Regions from separate parts of the Homo sapiens genome. Here regions 1, 3 and 4 are each linked to region 2. The links are contacts of gene promoters, found by promoter capture Hi-C in blood cells and fetal thymus (Javierre and others, 2016). All regions are on one chromosome and are shown on one strand. The core of a region is centred on a gene start or on the middle of the fragment in contact, and the rest is flanking DNA. Distances in the headings are between cores, read along the strand shown. Region 1 has its middle 84 kb from the start of LINC01267. Region 2 holds the start of SLC6A6 (solute carrier family 6 member 6). Region 3 has its middle 69 kb from the start of LSM3. Region 4 overlaps LSM3 (LSM3 homolog, U6 small nuclear RNA and mRNA degradation associated).

Evidence for each region. Contacts are between HindIII fragments. The CHiCAGO score rates a contact against its expected background, and 5 or more counts as called.
Region 1: a contact is called between a fragment that was not itself captured here and the fragment with the promoter of SLC6A6 in region 2, in 7 of 17 cell types (M2 macrophages, M1 macrophages, M0 macrophages and 4 more). The highest score is 15.0, in M2 macrophages.
Region 3: a contact is called between a fragment that was not itself captured here and the fragment with the promoter of SLC6A6 in region 2, in 2 of 17 cell types (M2 macrophages and neutrophils). The highest score is 5.7, in M2 macrophages.
Region 4: a fragment that was not itself captured here is called in contact with the fragment with the promoter of SLC6A6 in region 2 in 1 of 17 cell types (erythroblasts); the score reaches 5.6 in erythroblasts.

What each region holds. Positions count from the first base shown.
Region 1 is chr3:14,265,519-14,271,250 of GRCh38, reverse strand. No RefSeq gene overlaps it. Among named protein-coding and RNA genes, the nearest start is that of LINC01267, 84 kb to the left of the region's middle. RefSeq lists an enhancer at 3,916-4,555. The HindIII fragment of the contact is 5,601 bases long and covers 1-4,463 here.
Region 2 is chr3:14,398,744-14,404,204 of GRCh38, reverse strand. SLC6A6 (solute carrier family 6 member 6) reads right to left here and starts at 1,599. Exons shown (of 15, transcript NM_003043.6): 1 at 1,358-1,599. LOC105376959 (a long non-coding RNA gene) reads left to right here and starts at 1,798. Exons shown (of 8, transcript XR_007095825.1): 1 at 1,798-3,544; 2 at 4,968-5,061. RefSeq lists enhancers at 416-495, 566-625, 1,946-2,115, 2,126-2,175 and a silencer at 1,276-1,805. The HindIII fragment of the contact is 4,510 bases long and covers 380-4,889 here.
Region 3 is chr3:14,244,959-14,250,416 of GRCh38, reverse strand. No RefSeq gene overlaps it. Among named protein-coding and RNA genes, the nearest start is that of LSM3, 69 kb to the right of the region's middle. The HindIII fragment of the contact is 3,788 bases long and covers 67-3,854 here.
Region 4 is chr3:14,181,128-14,186,213 of GRCh38, reverse strand. LSM3 (LSM3 homolog, U6 small nuclear RNA and mRNA degradation associated) reads right to left here. Exons shown (of 4, transcript NM_014463.3): 2 at 4,544-4,654; 3 at 2,182-2,277. Among named protein-coding and RNA genes, the nearest start is that of LSM3, 4.9 kb to the right of the region's middle. The HindIII fragment of the contact is 7,444 bases long and covers 1-5,086 here.

The sequences.
Region 1 (5,732 bases), core at 414-2,913, 130 kb after region 2:
GTAAAGGGAACAGTATCACCTAGACATTAGTGGGAGAGCAAGGGAAGGACACCATTAATCTGTCAAATGCTTGAACCCTTTGACTAGCATGTGGATATGTGGAGCCCACAGTGTGAGAAAGAATGTCTGCTTAAAGTTATTCGTTGCAGTGGTGTTTAGGGTAGCACAAGTTTGGATAGTTAGGTCCCCAACAGGGAACTGGTTAAATAAATTATGCTTTATCTGTACAATGGAAATAAGGGAGTTCTTTACATGATGATAGGGAACTATCTATAAGCTATATTAAAGTAAAAGGCAAGGTGTCTAGACATTAAAGAACAAATTGATAAATTGGACTTCATCAAAATTGAAAATGTTCACTCAGCCAGGCACGGTGTTCATACCTGCAATCCTAACATTTTGGGAGGCGGAGGCAAGAGGATCCCTTGAGGCCAGGAGTTTGAGACCAGCCTGGCCAACACAGGAAGACCCTGTCTCTACAAAAAAATTTTAAAAATTAGCCAAGAGTGATGGCATGCCCCTGTAGTCTCAGCTACTTGGGAGGCTGAGGCAGGAGGATCACTTGAGCCCAGGAGGTCTAGGCTGCAGTGAGCTGTGGTCGTACCAATGCACTGCAGCCTGGTGACAGAGCAAGACCCTGTCTCAAGAAAATAAAAATGTTCACTATGTAAAATCTCTGGATGGAAAGACAAGCCCCAGACTGGGAGGAAGTCTTTGCAGATCTGCAAATAATCCGATCTCTGATGAAGGACTTGTATCTAGAATGTATAAGAACACTCTAAACTCAATAGTAAGAAAACAAACACTTCAATTAGAAAACTGGCAAGAAACACATACAGATACTTCACCAAAGAGGATCTGGGGATGGCAAATCCATAAGCACAAGAAAAGAAGTTCAGCATCACGGGTATCAGGGAGACGCAAATTAAAGCTATGGTGAGATATCACTACCACCTATCAAAATGGCTAATATAAAAAACAGGAACAATGACGAGTGCTAGCAAGGACGCAGGGCAGCTGGAGTCCTCATACTTGCTTCTGGGTATGGCCTCTCTGGAAAGTTCGTTATCAAGTTAAACACACACTTACCATATAACCTGGCAATTATTACTTCTGGGTATTTATCCCTGAAAAATGAAGACAGGTTTATGCAAAAACTTTTATATGAACATTTATCACAGCTTTATTTATAACAGCCAAAAGTTGGACACAGCACAAATGTCCTTCAGCAGGTGAGTGAATAAACAAACTGTGGGACACCCATGAAATGGAAGACTGCACAATAATAAAAGGGAATGGACTATTGATAAGCACAGCAACTTGAGTTGATCTTCAGGGCACTATGCTGAGCAAAACATGCCAATCTCAAAAGGTTATATACTATATAATTCCATTTATGTAACATTGTCACAGTGACATAATTATAGTAATGGGGAACAGATCAGTGGTTGCTAGGGATAGGGTTGGGGGAAGGTGCAATTCTACAGTGTTAACATGAGGGCATTTCTTTGCGGTGCTTGGAATAGTTCTACAGCCTGATGGCTACAAAATCTATCTACATGGGAAAGTTTCAGAGAATTATGCACCAGAAAACAAAAACAAACAAAACAATTATTACATGTAAAAACTGGTAACATCCAAATAAGGTCTGACTTAGTAATACTGTACCCATGTCAATTTCCCGGTTTGACAATGTAGCATGATTATGTAAGATGTTAGCACTAGGGGAGCTGGGAGAAGCTGGGTGAAAGGTGCATGGGAACTCTGTACTATTTTTGCAACTTCATGTGGGTCTTAAACTGTTGCAAACTAAAAATTTTTAAAGTAGAAATGGTTTGGGACTGTTTCGCTCAATTTGATTTTTTTTTCTTGCTGTAAAAAATAATAGCAAGGTGAAGAAGGTATGTAGAGAATACCATTTGTGTGAAAGATAAATGCAGGAGTCATCCTGTGTATGATAGAATATCTCTGGAAAGATACAGAAGGAACTGGGAATACTGGAGCCACATGAGATGCAACCGAAAATGCACAAGGATGAGAAAGAAAGCCTGATTTTCCAGTTTTCCTCTGAGAATTTTGACTTTTTTACTGCAGGTGTCTACCACTGTCTTAGTTTGTTCTTGCTGCTATAACAAAATGCCATAGATTGGGTGGTTTTATAAACAAAGAAATTTATTTCTCACAGTTCTGGGGCTGGAAAGTTCAAGGCCAAGGTGCCAGCAGACTTGGTGCCTAGGGAGAGCCTGCTGTCTTATTCATAGATGGTGCCTTCTTGCTGTGTCCTCACATGGTGGGAAGGGCAAGGGAGCTCTCTGGGGCCTCTTGTATAAGGGCACTAATCCCATTCATGAGGGTCCCACCCTCATGACCTCCTCACCTCCCAAAGTTTCCACCTCCCAACACCATCACCTTGGGGATGAGGGTTGCAACACATGGATTTGGCATTCAGACCATAGCAATCTCCATGTAAATTTTTAAATTTAATTGTCTTAAAAACTAAGAGTAGGACCCAAGGCAGTGGGGGAACTGTGGAGCCATCAGTTTGGCTCTGAGATCCTTGAAGGGTCAGCTCAGTAAGGAGAGGGAAAGTAGCCTAGGGACAAGGATTTTATCAGGAAGTCAATATTTTGTTAAGCTCAAGGGAGGCTCTACACACACACACACACACACACACACACACACACACAATTAATGGGGCAGGGAGGGCACTGGGCTGAGGTTGGCCAGGCCTGGGAATTGACGTCTTCTTCACCTGTGTTATAACAACAGCAACAAGGGGTAGGCATCACAGCCTCCACAACCGTGGACACTCACCGCAGGCCAGGCACTCAGCCAAGCACCTCTCAGGGGTTAACTCACGTTATCCTCTCAACAATGTCACTGTACAGAGGAGGAAGCTGAGGCACAGAGAGGCAAAGAGACTTGCCCAAGGCCCTACCTGACTTTGTAGCCCTCTAACACCTCAGGCCTCCTGACCAGCCCCAGGCCCTGGACGCTGAGGTGACAGGACACAGGGGTGGAGCAGCAGGATGGGCGGATGACAAATGTCTTGAGCACTTGCTTGGCCTCGGGCACAGACTCACTCATGGATCCTGCTGGGGAAGGGCAGGCAGACAGCACACAGGGCCACCCAATGGCAAAGATGACTGTCAAAGAGGCAGATGTGAGCAGCCCTGGGCTGGGGCAGGGGAGGCGGGAGTGATCTAGTGAGCTGGGAAAGGCTGGGGCTTAGAGGCAGGTATTCCCGGGTAGACCCCAGCTCCCACCTTGGCAGATGGCTCCTGTCTCTACTTGCCTTCTGATTCCTTCTTTAAAATGAGGAGCATTGCAACACCTGCTCCCGACCCAGGCTGCTGCCAGGCTCCAGGGCTCAGGCAGGGGACAGCAGGAGCTGCAGAAAGCCAGCTGGCTTCAAAACCTGAGAACGGCCCAGACCCCTGTCAGCAGGTGTCAGGGGAACTTGTGACACACCCATGCACGGAATATCATGTAGCTAGGAACAAGAGCAATTACAGTCACACGCAGCGTGGGATCTCCAAGAGTGATGAGCAAAAGAAACCAGGGAAGGAAAAGTACAGACTGGACCACCTCATTTACATGGAGTTTCAACTAGGCAAAACTCACCTATGGTGTTAAAAATCAGGATCGCGGGGACCTCTGGGGAAGAGGCAGAGAGGCTTTGGGGGACGGTGGGCACAGATGTGCTCACTTTCGACAACTCTTCAAGGGGCTGGGAAGTGGTGACCCGAGACAGGGCCTCACTGACCCCCAGTTTCCTCCTCTGGGAAGAAGATTTCACAAATGGCCCTGCCTGTTGAGGGTGTCGCGAGGGTCAGATGATGGCAGGTGACTTGTGGGTGTGGAGATGCCCCATGAGAGGCCACCATGGAAATGGTGGGTCACGAATTTTTGAAGCAGAGGCCTCTGGTGGGAAGAGCTCCCAAGAGAGAGCCCCGTGTCCTCTTCTATCCACTGCCCCTGCCTCCACGGCTGGAGGCCCTGGGCAGCCCTGGTGTGCGTGGGACCTAGGGGCCTCTGCCAGCTGCCCCAGCTTCCCTGGGCCCGGCTCCCAGAACTCTCAACCAGCAAAGCCCATCCAGCCTGAGCTAGGGAAGGATTCAGGGTGGAAATCCAGAGCCGGGGGCTGAGAGGGAGGCATCTCGGGCAGGGTGGCCAAAGGCTGGGGTGGGCAGAAGCCAGTGCAACGGTAGCCTTCCTCCCTCCACTCCTCAAAGCCCCAGCAACACTGCATCTCCACTGTGTTTCCTGGGACAAGCCACGGGGCCTCGCTGATCCTCAGCCTTCTCATCCATCAGGGGTCTGTTGTGGGGGTTAAATGAGATAATCAACTATTGGTGCTGAGTAAACAGCAGCTGCAATTGTCATTTTTACTGCTATCTCATTGTGGGGAAGGCTGTCTAGGGCATAGAGATGGAGAGGCTGTGAGGGTCCAGAAGAAAGCTTAGATTCATACACTACCCTTGTATACACTTTGCAAGTGAGGAATGCAAAACCCAAGGTCAGAGGCAATTAGGCCAGGGAGCCAGGGGGGCCCCCCAAGGCCCAGCCTCCTCAGTCCCTGTACTGACATTCTCACGTGGACTGCTTCCCACATGGCCACTCTGGAAGATGTACAGAAGGCAGAGAGGCTGCGGGCCAGCCTGGAGGCGGGTGGGAGATTCCCTGGGAGAGTGCATGCGCACACACACATGCACACACACTCGCCACGGTGGGAATCCCACGTTAGTCATTCTGTTTTAGGACTGGGAGCGTAATATGGAGCCGGCTTGCGCTGGAAGAGTGGGAGACGCAGATGCACCCTCTAGAACTGCCAGAGGCTTCTGCATGACTCAGAAAACTGGAAGAGGCCCCGCTCACCACTGACTTCAACTCTTCATTTGGAAAATCTGTTCTTTTTACTTATGAAATATTTCAGACATATAGAAAAGTACAGAAAGTAATGTAACAAACACCTGTGGATTTCTCACTTGGCTCCAGTTCTTTATTTTAATTAATTCATTTTATTATTTTTTTTTAGAGACAGGGTCTCGCTCTGTTGCCCAGGATGGAGTGCAGTGGTGTAATTACAATTTGCTCCAGGTTCAAGCTCCTGGGCTCAAGCGATCCTTCTGCCTCAGTCTCTCAAGTAGCTGGGATGTCAAGTGCATGCCATCATACCTGGCTAGTTTATTTTTAATTTTTAGACGCAGGGTCTCATTATGTTGCCCAGGCTAGTCTCCAACTGGCCTCAAGCAATCCTCCTGCCTTGGCCTCCTGAGTCCCTGGGATTACAGATGTCTGCTACCACAACTAGCTCCAGCTCCAGTTCTAACAGGTTGCTGGTCCTGCTCCTCCTCCTTCACTGATCATTTTCGGGATATAGTCAGAGCCCTCAGGCAGCCCTCTCTGATTGCATTTCTGTCTTTGTCTCCCTCCCGAGGGAATTAACTCCTTGCATCTGGAGTTTACCTTCCCATATTTGTTTTCACACATACATCTGTATCTATAAACATTGGTTTTGTTTGCTCTCAAACTTAATGGGACTATGCTGGATGAGTCACCCTTCAGCTTATCGTTTTGACTCAACATCACGTTATGGAGGCTCCTGCACACGGCTGCACAGAGCGTGAATCCATTCATCTGCAGTCTGTACATAAGCCACGATGCATGAAGCCCTTCTCCCGAGGATGGACTCCTAGGCCGTCTCCAGTTGTTTGCCCTCAAGTCAGCTG
Region 2 (5,461 bases), core at 350-2,849:
CCTTCTAGCCAACAAAAAATTAAAAAGAAATTTTAAAAAGATCTCCTCAGTGACATTTACTTGAACGTCAGCTGTGCCAAAGCGGGGGCCAATTTAGTGAAGTCCAAATGGAGCCATGCGCCAGTAAACCTCAGCCCGAAGACCCTCCATTCAAGTGTCTGGGCAATTACTGAGCTGATTTATTTCCCCAGACAGGAAACGGGGGCCCAGGCTGCCTCCCAAGCTTTTGGGGCTGGTCCTGGGGATGCCGGGATCTGGCAGAGGCCCAACAGTGACCAAAATAGCCAGGCCGGTGGCCCTACCCGGCACACACCTCCCTGCCTGGGAGAGCTGCCCACAGGTCTCCTCTCCAGTCCAGGCTGAAGTCCAGGCTGAAGCTTTGAGGCTGTAGGAGGAGGTCCCTGGAATTCTCTCTGTGTGGCTTCCCTAGTGGGAGGGGGACGAGAATCTCCTACTCAAAAGAGGAACCCACAGAAGGAAGAGAAATAGTCTGGAGGGGGAAGTGTCCTGCTGGCCCTGCCGGCTGTCCACTACCCCTTGGCTGCCCCTCCGGGCCTTGGTCCCACCACTCAGGACTGCTGGACGCTGGCGCTGCCACCTGCACACCACCTATGGAGTGCATGCACCTATGGAGCCACGCTGCCCTATCACCTCTCCCCACTCAGCGCCGGCCCTGGAGAACCAGCTCTGGCCATTGGACCCTCTAGGCACCAGGGACACCCTCTTGGGTACAGCCGAGGACACACGAGTGCCCACAACCAGGGACCTGGAGACACAACCACACTCAGGGACACGCACGTGCACCTAGCCAGGGCCTGGAAGACGCAGCCCCCCACACACAGATTCATGCAGACACAAACGGGGACACACAAGAGCACACATCCAAAGACAGCACACTCAGGTATCACACACAGAGAGGCACACACACACAGCCCAGCACGCAGAGAATAACAGACATGCACCGGAACACACATGTGCACGCTGCTGGGGACACGGTGAAACAGTCACCCTCAGAAACACAGACACAGGGATACGGAGGCACATGTAGGCATCCTGACGGAGACAGGCACACAGATATGCCACACACACACACACACACACACACACACACACACACACACACACACTCTCCTGCCGCCCGCACCAAGAGCCGGAGCCCTTTTGCCGGGGAAACAATAACAGCCCCGCCAGCGGGACTGAGCAGGCGACTCTCGGTCCCTTCCGCGGTGGTGAAAGGGGCGCCGGATGGGCGCACGCGGAGGGGAGGAGGCCGGGACTGCGGCGACGCGGGGATGGGGAGGGGCTGCAGACGGCGGGCAGCGCCGGCTGCGCGCCCAGCTCCCGGTCCCTCCGGTACCTGGGGTGGCTGCGGCGCCGCCCGCGCTCTGCTCGGCTGTGCCGGGTTCCGCCGGCCGGGGGCTGCCTGCCCGCTCGCTCTCTGACCCGCTGGGTGAACGCTCCGCACTCCCTCTTGGCGCAGCTTGTCCTCTGGGCTTGCGGTCCTCGGGGCTCGGCGTTGGCGGCGGCGCGAAGGAAGCGGTAATTTATAAGCGGCTTCTTCCTGACCTCGCGTGTCTGTTGTCTGAGCAGGCAGCTCTCAGCATCACCCATCCTGCTGGGTGGAAAAATACCAGCTCGGCCGGGCCGGGGGCGGGGCCGGGGCGGGGCCGGGGCTTCCAGCCCCGCCCCAAGTGCGGACACACGCGCGCACACATACACATGCACACACATACACGCAAACACGCACGCGCGCATGGGCTCGGACACACAAAGAACCCGGGCTCGCCGAGCGCGCGCGCACACCCTCATGCCGCGCGGCGAACGTTCGTTGCCAGGTGCGGCAGCCCGCCCTGGGCGCCTCCTGCCTGCGGAAGAAGAGCAGGACAGACCCGACCCGACCCGCCTAGTCCTTTCCTTCACAGCAGCCTCCAAACTCCACCGCTCGCCTCTTCCGCCAGGCTCCTAGGATGAGGCCCAGGGCTCCTGGAGCAGCCAGGTGCAAACCAGACCGGGCTCGCACTCCACTGCGTTGCCCTGGGCGATCGTCCACGTTCTGGGAGACTCGGTATGCCCCGGGAGGGTGGCCTGAGCTTGTGGTGTGAAGCCAGGTACAGAGCTCCAGAATCCTGGCCTTGCCATGGCTGTGTGACCCTGGGCAAGTGACTCAATTTCTCTGCCTCAGTGTCCTCATCTATAAAATGGAAAGGAAAATAGTAGCGCTTGTCTCCTCCGGCTGTTATGAAGATCCAAGGTTAACAGCGTAGAGAACTCGGAACGCACCCGGCATCTAGGAAGTGCCAAGCCAGTGTCAGCTAATGTGACTATTTTTAAATGGAGATGGGGAGTGTGCCATTATTCTTGTCCTTATTTGAATGAACGGGCCCTCAGGGACCATTTTCCACTGCCCCGCCCTGGCAGCATGAGAGGGAAACGCTGTGAGAACCCCGAACCCCAGCCTTCTCCTGTCCCTCTCTCTCTCTCTCTCTCTCTGCACCTGGGAGGCGGGGAGGAGAGAGCCGATCCTTCCACCATTTACACGGAGAATGAAAGAAGAAATACCGGCCAGGCGCGGTGGCTCATGCCTGTAATCCCAGCACTTTGGGAGGCCGAGGGGGCAGATCACCTGAGGTCAGGAGTTCGAGACCAGCCTGGCCAACATGGCGAAACTCCGTCTCTACTAAAAGTACAAAAATTAGCCTGGCGTGGTGCCGGGTGCCTATAATCCCAGCTACTCAGGAGGCTGAGGCAGGAGAATCCCTTGAACCCGGGAGGCGGAGGTTGCAGTGAGCCGAGATCACGCCACTGCACTCCAGCCTGGGTGACAAGAATGAGTCTCAAAAAAACAAAAAAGAAGAAGAAGAAGAAATACCACACAGGTCCGACCAAGAGCTGCCCCCACTCAGGCCAGGATCCCTGCCTGGAAGGGCTCTGCAGCCACTCTCCCTGTACAGCCCCAGGATGCTAAGGAGCATCCCGAAGTGACACTGGCTCTCCCTGGAGGCCCCTGCCATCGGACTCCAACCTGACCTTCCAGTGGGTGCTCCTCATACTGGCTCCAGCCAAGACAGACGAGGACCACTGGGCACATGCCCTTCCTTGCCTTCCTGTCACCCTTCCCACCCTTCTCTGCGGGCCCCGGGTGGCCCCTTCCTCCAGGAAGCACCTGGGGATCAGCAGTGCCTCTAGGGTCCCAGTGGCCCACGTGACATCTGCTTCTGGCCACCTGAGCACTCTCCTTTGAGTTCAGGGTCACTGTACCCTTTTATAGGTGAGCAAACGAAAGCTGAGGAAGAGGAGTGACTGGGTCTCCCACATCCCTCTGCTTCAGCTATGAGGTTCCCTCATGAACTGCAGGAATAGACGTCAAGCAAAAACTCCTCAGACGCCCTGTGCATGTGTGGTCGCACAGGGCACAAAGACTGAAGCAAAGGGGCAGGTCCTAGCGTGGGGAGGGGACTCCAGGATTGAAGTTTGAACCAAAAGGAGGCTTTGACTAAGCCACGAGCAGTGAAGCCGGCAGGAGAGGAAGCAAGTTCTAGCAGAGGTGCCTGCCGTGCGAAGGCCTGAGAGCAAGGTTGTTGGTGGCAGGGCTGAGCTTGAGGGTCTGAGAGAGTGAGCAAGGGCAGTGGCTGTGGGAGGAGGGAAGAGTTGTGTGTTCAGAGCTGCAACTTGGAAAGGCCCATGGGATCCTTTGACCTCCAGGTAGGCCAGCGGAGCCTCATGCAGGTAGTGCCAGCGCAAGACACACGAGTGAACCATCTATCCAGTTACCAGCTCCATGAGGGATGGGATCTGTTCTTTTGCCTCCATCAACTCCTGGAGTCTATCATAGGCCTGACACACAGTAGGTACTCAATAAGTGTTTGCTGCATTTATTTTAACGTACTTTTCTTTTTTTTCTTTTAAAACGGAGTTTCGCTCTTGTTGCCCAGGCTGGAGTCCAATGGCGCAATCTCAGCTCACTGTAACCTCCGCTTCCTGGGTTCAAGTGATTCTCCTGCCTCAGCCCCGCTAGTAGCTGGCATTACAGGCATGCGCCACCACGCCTGGCTAATTTTGTGTTTTTAGTAGAGATGGGGTTTCTCCATGTTGATCAGGCTGGTCTCAAACTCCCAACCTCAGGTGATCTGCCTGCCTCGGCCTCCCAAAGTGCTGAGATTACAGGCGTGAGCCACCGTGCCTGGCTTTAACTTACTTTTCTTTGGCACTTAACTATGTACCCTGCACAGTTAAATGCATTTTAATAAGTTAACCCTTTTCATCCCGACAACACCCCTATGAGATTGGTACAATTATTTCTTCCGTTTTATAGAAGGTAAAACCGAGCCACAGAGAAGTTAAGTAACTTCCCCAAGGTCACTCAGCTGGCAGATAGTAGAGCTGGAATTCAAACCTAGGCCACCTGGCTCCAGAGGTTACAATCTTGAATGAGGGGATTCTGGGTGGGCGATTGCCAGACAAAAAAACCCAGCCCCAAGGAGAGAAAGGAGGAGAAGGAGGCAAGAAGAGCCCCAACCTCAGCCCCAGGGAGAGGTGGCAGATGAGGTGGAAAAGGGATGGTCAGACCGGAGAAGGGGCCAGGAGGAGCCAATGCCAAAGCTAGAGGCATGCACAGGGTGGAGAGAGCTCAGTGCGGGAGGCCACAGACCCTAGCTCCACCTCAGCCCTGTGGCTTCCCAGTTGTGTGACTTGGGCCTGCAGGCCTGCTCTCTGAGCCTCAGTTTCCTCATTGTAATATGAGATAAAATACACCCTGCCTCAATGAGCCATTCTGAGGAGAGGAGAAGTCTCGAACTGGAGGCCTTAAACCGAATCCAGCTCCCAGATGTGCTTCTTTGGCTGTCACTGAGCTTTAATGTGTTTGGAGTTAATTTTTATGAATAAAAGCTTGGAAGATTTCACATTTAAAAAATCTGGCCAGGCTGGGCAACAAAGTAAAATTCCATCTCTATGAAAATTTTTTTTAGAAATTCGCCGGGTATGGTGGTGCATGCCTATGGTCCCAGCTACTCAGGAGGCTGAGGCAGGAGGATCACTTGAGCCCGGGAGGTGAAGGCTGCGGTAAGCTATGACTACACCACTGCACTCCAGCCTAGGTGCGAGAGCAAGACCCTGTCTCCAAACAACAACAACAACAACAAAATCTGAATGCCTGGTTTATCTTGAAATATGGCAAAATGGGGCCACCCAGGCCCATTAACCCCCTGTCTACAATGTCCTGGAGCTGAGGGGCATTAGCCACCCTCTCACATGGGCTCCCCAGGGTGCCACAGCTCCCTCCTAGCTAGTTTGCTCTTTTCTGTCACCTACCGGCCCTTGCAGGGAGCTGAATTTGAGACCCATGATGCACTTTGTGCACCCTGCCCCCTCAAAGATAACTGTGAGTACCAAGGGAAATGGAAAGCTTTGGCAACAAGAAGGGAGCTTCAAGGAAAGCCAGGCCGAGGTTCCCCTCAGAACC
Region 3 (5,458 bases), core at 711-3,210, 150 kb after region 2:
AGAGGAGGAGGAGGGTGCTTTCTGGTGTTTCCTCCATAAGGACACCAATCCTACTGAATTAAAGCTTCACTTAACCTTAATTATGACCTCAGTTAACCTTAATTACTTCCTTAGAGGCCTCATCTCCAAATATAGACATACTGGGGTTAGGGCTTCAGCATACACATTCTGGAGGGTCAGAAACATTCTGTCCATAACAAGCAATTTGTTCCCTTCATGGTTGAGTTGCAGAGTAGTATTCCATTACATGGATTTGTTGTATGAATATATCTCAACTGGTTTGTTCACCACCTGTTGAAGGACATGAAGTTTGTTTCCAGTTTGGGGCTATTTATTATGAATGAGGAGAACATTTGTATAACAGTCTTTGTGTGGATCTGGATTAACCAACAAAGGGAATAACCTGGAGCACACGAATGAAAACTCCACTGGTGGTGAAGTCTTCAGGAATGGCTCCATCCAGAGGCTCCAGACCGCACTCCATTTCTCTACTATGCTTTCAGCTATATCTTTGTGTATGCGTGAGGCTGACCTTTCCATCCCTTCTTACAGCTCAGTGTTTCTCTTTTGCTTACTCAATCAGCAAACATTTATGGAGCCAGCTCCATGCCAAGCACTGCACTATGAGTGGGAAACAATGGGTGAGTAAGCTCTGTCCTTGCCCTCTTGGAGCATATGGTCTAGTGAGAGACACGGACAGATGGACACATAAGCCCACAAGTGCTATATACAAGCCCACACCTCCAAGTGAGAAGAAGGATTCTGTAAGATGAAAGTCCAGCTACTCGGGAGGCTGAGGCAGGAGAATGGTGTGAACCCGGGAAGGGGAGCTTGCAGTGGGCCGAGAACACGCCACTGCACTCCAGCCTGGGCAACAGAATAAGACTCCATCTCAAAAAAAAAAAAAAAAAAAGATGAAAGGGAGAGATGTCAGTGACTCTCCTCTCTGGGGACAATGGGGTCAGGCCACAGAGTCTTTTGTTGCTTTCAGCTCTGTGTTTTTCTCTGTTGCATCCGTCTTCCTGTAGCGGCCCCAATGAAGTCTCCTAGATGTCAGATGTCCACACAGAGCCTATTTGTTTGCTTCTGATCACAGACTTGTTTGCAAAGCAAGGCTTGTGAAAGCATTTCCAGTCCAACTAGATGATTAAAACCCTGCAGGAGAATTTCATGTCCTTGGGGCTGGGGAACTCAATGTTCCACATTGGTGTTTCTCTCTCCTTAAGGACCTTCCATGCAGCTGCTGGGGCTGGTGGGATGGATTATTTATTGGCCTGATTAAATGTGTCCTTAAGCTATAAAACTGGTGCCAGAGTCTTGGGCCACACTTCCAGCACGAGACTGATTTGTCTCCTGAGGGAAGAGCTCTAAGAATTGTGGCCTGTCTCTCCTCCCACATGATTTCAGGACTGGGAGATTCTGGATAAGCACGAGTGTTCTGCCCCAAAGGGTTTTTACTCAAGGGAGTCTTCATTTTACAACTATTCCATTTATGCCTGATGCACACCAGGCATTGGGCCAGACTCTGGGCACAGCAACAAGCAGGACAGACTCGGTCTCTCCCCAGAGGAGCTCAGAGCCTGGCGGGGGCAGATACCCATGAAACCATCACTCATGTATTACATACGTAAGTATAAACCATGGTGACTGCCACAAAAGAGGGACACAGGGTTTTTAAGTGACCATATCAGGGGGACTAGACTTAGATGAAGTGTCCAGTGACATCTCAACTATGGAGATCTGAAGGATGAGCACAGGAAGGGAGGGGAGGCAATGGAACAGCACATGCAAAGGCACCAAGGGAAGAGGAATCAGGGCACAGTGAGGAGGTGTGAGGAGGTAAGAGGAACAGCATGGGCTGAGCAGAATGAGAACGGGGAAGAGTGGTTCAAAAGGGTAGAGGGCCAGTCACACCAGGCCCTGTGGAGTCTAGAGTTTATTCTTAGAGCCCTGGGGAGCCATGCAGGTGTGAGCAGAAGGTTGGTGTCCCTGCTCTCCTTGACCACCGCATGAGACCTCCCACAGGCAGGCTCTTCCTCTGACCCTTCCTGCTGCAGGGTCTTTCTAAAGCATCTCTTATCCCACCATTCCCAGCCTTAGAACCTTCCAATAACTCTTTACTGTGGATGCAACGTCAAATCTCCTTAGCGAGGGCTTGAGGTCAGAATAGTTGGTCAAGACTTTGAAGAACAAGCAAGTGACTGGGAGTTTGTTGGAAGTCATTGTTTGCTGTCTTTCTTTTCCTTTGAATAATGTAGTGCTATGCACTCCTTTTGGGCAGAAGTCATGATACAACCTTTTCTTATATTCCCAACAGAGGCCAAAACATGGGCAATATTGTCATCCTCATCATCATTATCATCTTCATCATGGGCTCCATTAATTAGGCCAAGCATTTTATACGCTGTATTGGTTAGCTGTTGCTGTGGAACTTAACAGCCTAAAATAGTGATTTATTATCACAACCATTTATTTTGGTCACAATTCTGTGGGTTGGCAGTACAAGTTGGGTTTGGTGGGGTAGTTCTTCTGGTGTTGACTGGCCTCTCTAACATGTCTGTGGTTAACTGTGGGCCAGCAGGCTGCCCCTGCTTCTGGGGATTGATTGACTGTTGGCTGGGTCAGTGGGGATGACTGATTAATATGTCTTCATCCTTCAGGTGAGATTGGGCCTCTTCATATGGTAGTGGCGAGGTCTCAGCATAAGAAGAGATACCTACTCAAAGTGAGAAGGGATAGTTAGTTGGCCACATCGAGTTACAAGGCCATCCATATTGAAGAAAGTGAAGAAAGAGACTCTGCCGCTTGACAGGAAGCAAGGCAAAAGGACATGGATATGGCAGGTTGTGAAAAATTGGGTCACTTTTGAAAACAATCAATTTCACAGGTATTATCTCATTTCCTCAAAAAGACAAAGTCAAAGCTCAGTTTTACAGGTAAAGCAGCTGAGGCACAGAGAAGAAAAGGAGCTTGCTCAAGGAGCTGCTAATAGAGTTGAGATTCAAACCCCGGTGTTTATCACTCTACAGACAACACGTTATTAACCCCTGTGAGTTACTGCCCACTCCACTCACAGACAAAGACCTAAGGAGGTCAGCATCCCAGGAGGCCACTGTCTTTGTCATCATTGCCATCATCATCACCATCATCACATTTATTGAATATCTGTGATGTGCAGATGCTATCAGTGCTTTACATGGATTAATTCATTTATTATAATTCACCCAATGTCCCTATAAGATGTACATTAATGATTTTCCCATGTAACGTGGGTCAGGATTAGAAATTTCATGACGACTTCACTCATTTTGATATTCCCTCTATAGCACAATATCTGGCACATAGGTCATACCCTCTTGCCATATGTTTGCTGAATGAATGAGGGCAGAAGTAGGGGAGTGAACAAGACTCAAGGCAAACAATCATTAGCCCAAAGTCACACAAAGCAGGACTAGATCTCAAGATCCCCCATCTCCTTGCCATGTGGCCCCTGGGCAGCCTTGTTACCTGGATCTGCTGCTGCTCCACTCCCCCAAGGTGGCTGAAAATAGAAAACAAGATTCGGGATGTGCTGTTCGGTCTTCCAGCAGGTGCCCCCAAACCAAACATAGTCCCAGAAACGTAAATCTGAGAATGTTTTGAAACTACCTAGCACAGTGGAGAGAGCACTGGGCTCAGAGTCTGAAGACCCATGTGTGCCACCCTTGGTTGATGTGTGATCCTGGATGGGTCACTTGGAGAAGACCAGACTTTCCTCATCAGAAATCCAGGGCTTCAGATTTTACATCCTGTTTACATTCCAGGACTGTGCGGGAGATAAGAGGAGCTCACAGATGCAAACTCTCCGTGAAGCTTGTACTTGACTCAACTCATGGACCTCTCCGGGTTTGCTCAGCTCCACTGGTTGCACCCCCACCAACACCCCCAGCCTCACTTACTTGCTCAGGGGAGCACAGGCCCCACACCAGCTCATCTCCTAATTGCCACGGGCTCCACCTCCCACGGGGCAACGTCTGCACCTAGGCCTGGCCTCTTACCTTCCGTGGAACCACAGCAACTCTGGTGCCCTGGTCCAACCTGACTGGTCATGCAGAGGCTCTGGCTTGTCTCACTGTTTCTAGACCCAGATGAAGCACTCTGCCCTGAGATGTAGCATGTGGCTTCCCCAGCAGCTGTCTGAAGGGGCCACAACACTTTCAGGGGAGTTAAGGCCCGTAGGGTCAATTTGGACCAGTGAAAGACAGATGATGGAAAATCACCAGGAGATGCCTCTTTCTTCCTCTGCTAGTCTTGGCTCTCTGGAGATGTTACATGGCTGAGTGACCTGGTGTGCTTTGCTCTGAAGCTGTGACATGCTCAATCATGCACCACCCTGTGTTTTCTTTCTCTCCTTCCCTGCTTCACTTCCCGTCTTCCCTCAGTCTTCCCCCAGCTCACACCCTGGAATGACACACAGGTACCTGAGCTTCACTGGAGAATCTGTGGGTTAGGTAACCTAGTCGAAGATAAAGAGAAGAATTTGAGAAAGTTGTCAATTTGCAACCACTCAAAAAATCAGAAGAAGACTGTATCTACTGCTGGCAAGGATATGGAGCAACCGGAATGCTCTCGTACGCTGCTGGTGAGAATGTAAAATGGAACAGCCACTTTGGAAAATGGGCAGTTTCTTAAAACATTAAACATACACCTACCATATGGCCCAATCTTTCCACTTCTAGGTATTTATCCAAGAGAGAAAAAAATACATATGTCTACACAAAGACTTGTACGAGAATGTTTATAGCAGCTTTATTTATAATAGCCTCAAACTGGAAACAACTCAAATGTCCCCCAACTGGTGAATATATAGACAAATGGTGGTATATTCATACAATGGAATTTTACTCAGCAATAAAAATGAATAAACTCTGGATACCCACAACATGCGTGAATCTCTAAATAATTATGCTAAGTGAAAAAGGCCAAAGAAAGTACTGTTTGATTCCATTTACATAAAATTCTAGAAGACGCAAACAAATCTATAAAAACAGAAAGTAGGCCAAGGATTGCCTGGGGACGGGGGTGGAGGAGGGGTGGGTTGTAAACAGGAGGGCACGAGGCGACTTTGGGGGCAATGGAAATGCTTGCCATCTTGATTGTGGTGATGGTCTCAACGGACCACCTTCATAAAGATGTGAAAAGGGGGGAAAATCACCAGGCCTATAAGTGAACCCAACCAAATCTTTAGGGAACGATCACTCCGATGCTATTTAAAGCATTTCAGTGCACAGAGAAAGAAGGAAAACTTCCAAATTCCTTTTGTGAAACTAGCATAATTCTGATACAGAAAACCTGGCAAAAGGGGCCCATTAATGAGTGTGCCGCTCTGCGCACACCTGTGGAGTTATTATTGACTCTGTAAATCAGCTACACTGCAGTTGACCTACTTTCACAATTTTTTTCTGTCTTTAGTTTCCAG
Region 4 (5,086 bases), core at 1,801-4,300, 220 kb after region 2:
AATCTTAAAGACCTTTCTTTCTGCTACGGCCTGGCATAGTGGCTCCCACCTGTAATTCCAGCACTTTGGGAGGCCAGGAGTTCGAGACCAGCCTGGCCAACATGGTGAAACCTGTCTTTACTAAAAACACAAAAATTAGCTGGGCGTGGTGGCACATGCCTGTAATCCCAGCTACTTTGGAGGCTGAGGCACGAGAATTGCTTGAACCTGGGAGGCGGAGGCTGCAGTGAGCTGAGACTGACATTGCACTCCAGCCTGGGTGACACAGTCAGACTGTCTTTAAAAAAAAAAAAAGACCTTTCTGACAAGATCACTGGTGATAACTAATAAATGTGATTTTTTTTAAACACTGAAGAAATAAAATGAATCTGCATAGCCCAGTGAACTACTATTTTCTAAAGAACCAGTGCCTGATGTAACCAAATCATGCATGAGTAAGAGATCCATTTGAGGTGCAAGGCAGATTAATGAATTTTCACCTAACAAGAGTACGAAAAGTTTACTGTTACCGTTTCAGATTCCAGATGGCAAATAATCTTTGACTGACTACCACTTGTTCAGTTTGGGTGTAGTATCAAAGGTAGAACATTCACAAAACAAACTCCTTCCTTTCCAACTACCTATCTGTGTGGTCAGATTTGCTTCAATTACAACAACAACTCATGATAGATTTAACGCAGAAAAAAGATATGAGAATCTTCTAGCTGTTATCGATTAAGCGGGGCATTAAAGAGATTTGCAAAAATGTAAAACAAAGACATTCCTCATTAAAATTTTGTTTTAGAAAATAGTTATTGTTCATAAAAATGTTACTTACAGTAACACGTGATAGGTTTTTTTTTGTTTTGTTTTGTTTTGTTTTGAGACAGAGTCTTACTCTGTCCCCCAGGCTGGAGTACAGTAGCACGATCTCAGCTTACCGCAACCTCTACCTCCCAGGTTCAAGTGATTCTCCTGCCTCAGCCTCCCGAGTAGCTGGGATTGCCAGTGCCTGCCGCCACGGCCGGCTAATATTTTGTATTTTTAGTAGAGACAGGGTTTTGCCATGTTGGCCAGGGTGGTCTCGAACTCCTGACCTCAGGTGATCCACCCGCTTTGGCCTCCCAAAGTGGTGGGATTGCAGGCATGAGCCACTGCACCCAGCCTTTTTTTTTTTGAGACAGCGTTTCACTCTTGTTGACAAGGCTGGAGGGCAATGGCACAATCTCAGCTCACTGCAACCTCCGCCTCCAAGATTCAAGCAGTTCTCCTGCCTCAGCCTCCCAAGTAGCTGGGATTATAGATATATGCCACCACACCCAGCTAATTTTTTGTATTTTTAGCAGAGACAGGGCTTCACCATATTGGTCAGGCTGGTCTCGAACTCCTGACCTCAGGTGATCCACCTGCCTCAGCCTCCCAAAGTGCTAGGATTACAGGTGTGAGCCACCATGCCTGGCCAGGTTTTTTTTTTTTTTGAGACGGAGTCTCGCTCTGTCGCCCAGGCTGGAGTGCAGTGGCGGGATCTCGGCTCACTGCAAGCTCCGCCTCCCGGGTTCACGCCATTCTCCTGCCTCAGCCTCCCAAGTAGCTGGGACTACAGGCGCCCGCCACTACGCCCGGCTAATTTTTTGTATTTTTAGTAGAGACGGGGTTTCACCGTTTTTTTAGCCGGGATGGTCTCGATCTCCTGACCTCGTGATCCGCCCGCCTCGGCCTCCCAAAGTGCTGGGATTACAGGCGTGAGCCACCGCGCCCGGCCCAGGTTTTTTTAATGAATAAATATTTAAAAAATTTTTCAGTTTCAGTTTCTAATAAATTAAGTATTAATAGATCAAATCCACAGAAAACGAAAGAACACTGTCCACTATTACTGTTACACACTATTATACATAGCCACCTTGCATTGTTGTATCTCACTGAATCTGGGAACCCTATGAGGTAAGTGGTAGTATTCCTGCTCACCAATGAGAACTCAGCTAACTTAATTCCCTTGCCCAAGGTAGCCCAAGTAGGAAGTGGTCAAGCCAGTACTGGCAACAGGGTCTGTCAGATGCCAGAACCCTTGCTTTTAATTGCTATGCTCTACTGAGTCCATAAGTAGGTGTCAAAACATGACAGGCTTCCCATAAATATGGGTTAAGCTGTTCGAGAGAGAACAGCTGATATTTGCAAAGCAATGAATAGAATTGCATGACTTACTTTATATATCTCTTCATATGTTTCTTCATCAATTTCTATAGTAGTCACAGTTTCTTCCACATCTCCCAAGATCATATTTAAATGTTGATCATAAGCCTAAAGTGGGAGGGTACAGAACCAAGAAATTTAATAATCAAATTACAAAAATGATAAAGGCTTAACAATATGCAAATTGCTCAATTACAACTAGGGCATTTGATACTTACATCACAAACTTTTACATGCAAATAAAAAGTAATCCTACAGTACTAATATACTGTTTCTTCACAAGTCACTTCCAATGATTACTTAATTGACCTGATAAAAATATAAAACTGCTTATATTGCCAAAAATAAATTTACTTCAAATCACTTGAAATTATTTTTAAAGTCTCCACCCCACTTGTTATCTAAGGCAGTCACATCATTTATAATATTTAATTATGAAAAACAGCAGATTCATCTTCATCATTTATCAGTAGACATCCTTCAATTTCACCTATAACAATCTGACAAGAAAAATACAGTAAAGAAGATAAAATCCTTTGTTTACTGGTAAGATAATGCCATTGCAGTCTTCTAAAGGCACACAGTAGACCACATGTCGCAGAGAGAAAGTAAGTAGAGCAACACCCTGCCCATTTCTAACCTATCCAGAACTTAAATGTGTTTAGTACCTGTGGGCTCAATCAATAAATGTTACAGCTAAGATATTCAATCCAAGCTCCAAAGTTCATTCATTTTACTAAAAGGTGCACTTTCTGGGACCTTGTTCAGAACTCAAGTTTACTTCTAACAACGTGTTACATGGTTCACCTGCTCACATCAAAATAAAAGTCACTTGTCAGCCATGTGGGGAACTGCTAAGCAGGGCACACTAACAAGATCAAACATGTATAGCTGAGAGGCACAAAACAAACAGAAAGTTGGGGCCATTTAGGATAGAGACCATCAAGTTTACACAGGGAACTGAAGAAGCCTCCAAGAGCCACAAACTTAAGTAATTAAACTCAATTCCATTTGTATTCCCAAAGTTACCACCATTCCTTTCCTGGAGTCTCTCTTCCTTTAAGGCCAGCTGTAGATTGTCTCCCTGGGTCCCTATTTCCTTTCCAAGCCCAGAGGTTCTTTATCTTTAGGTTTTGTGGAAGGCGGAACCACAGTACTTAAGAGTGGGGCTCAGGTCAGACAACCTAGATTCAAATTCTGGCTCTCCCTTTACCGTCAAGTGACTGTACCTTTCTGAGCCTGAGCTTCCTACACTGCAAAGCAGGAATAATTAGTATGTATCATCATAGGGTTGTTATAAAGATTAAATGAGATATCACACACAAAATGCTTAGAATAATAGTACCTGGTCTATAATTAATGCTCAATAAATGTTAGCTATTTTTAATCACTTTAGGGTAGAGTAGCAATACTAAAAACAACACACTTAGGAAAGTAACAAGTCATTAAGGAGAGGCAAAACCTTCAGGGTTCTCTATGAACAAATGGGATTATTTCAAGGGACCAATTCTACAGATATTTTGCAGATATGCACAAAGAAATATGTAAAAAAATGCTTACTGCAAGTATTTACGTATTTGTAGCAAGAAATGAAAAAAAATCGATCACTATCATATACAGAATCCTAGGTAGTCATTAAAAAGAATAAACGAAAATTAAATGCACTCATGATCAATTTCCAAGAAAGATTAAGTGAAAAAAAAAAAAGGTACTGAAAAACATGTATGGCAAGATCCATGTTTTGTAGAGGTAGGGTGTACATAATGCAAGTATGTGCACATGTACATATATGAGTGTATATGTGTAAACATACAGAAAAGGTAACCCAATTTTTAAATTTTATTTTTTGTAGAGACAGGGTCTCTCTATGTTGCCCAGGCTGGCAACACAGAGAACTCCTGGCCTCAAGTGATCCTCCTGCCCCAGTCTCCCAAAGTGCTGAGATTACAGGAATGAGCCACTGCACCTGGCCAAGATAATCCCATTTTTAGTAGTGATTACCAGTAGAAGAAATGGGATTTCACTTTTTACTCTATATATTTTTGTGCTGTTTAACTTTTCCTAATAAAACACATATTTGTGTTTTAAATTTAAAAAACATTTACGAATGGAGGACAAGTAAATATTATTTACAAATAAACAGAAGGGAAAAATGAAGGGAATAAAAATGTTCTATAATAAACGTATTTCTATTAAAAGAAAAAATGTTAAAAATGTGAATACATGCCGCTTTATTTGGCTTATGTGATATGGGTGACTTTCCACCACCCTCTCTTCCTTCAAAATACCCTTTCACTCTGGACAGGTTTTACATTTCAAGGGAGTGGGGGTAGGAAGGAATCTGATTTCAAGGTAACTTGATAAATTTACTTACATGTAATCTGCCTCGAAGCTCTCGGTCATTTCTCATTTTCACATAAATTCGCTCATCTAGGCTGAGCCTGATAAGATCCAGGGGCTCCTCTACAGTGTTGGTAGTTTGTTGCTGATAAAAGAAACAGGATTAGTAATGTAGTACTAGAGTCAGAGTAGTGCTTAAATCACTGCTATGCTGTGTGACCATGGGCAAGTTATTTAACCTTTTTCTGCCTCAGTCTCCTAATCTGTAAAATGGAGATAATAGTGTCTACCTAATACTGTTTTTGTGAGGCTTAAGTGATATACATGAAGGCTTAGAACAGAGCTTTTCACATAATACGTGCTATATAAATGTAGGTTAAAACACACATACATGAGAAGTTACACAGCAAAATAATCATGACTATACTTTGTTCCCTCAAAATCCAAACTGCCTGACCCAATTTCAGGGCATAGGGTCTCAGGGACTTTAGCTTTATCTCAAATATTATGTAATCATTGGAAAAACACTCACTTAATGCCTACCATACACTAGTCAGAATGCCAAATAGAGGTGTAG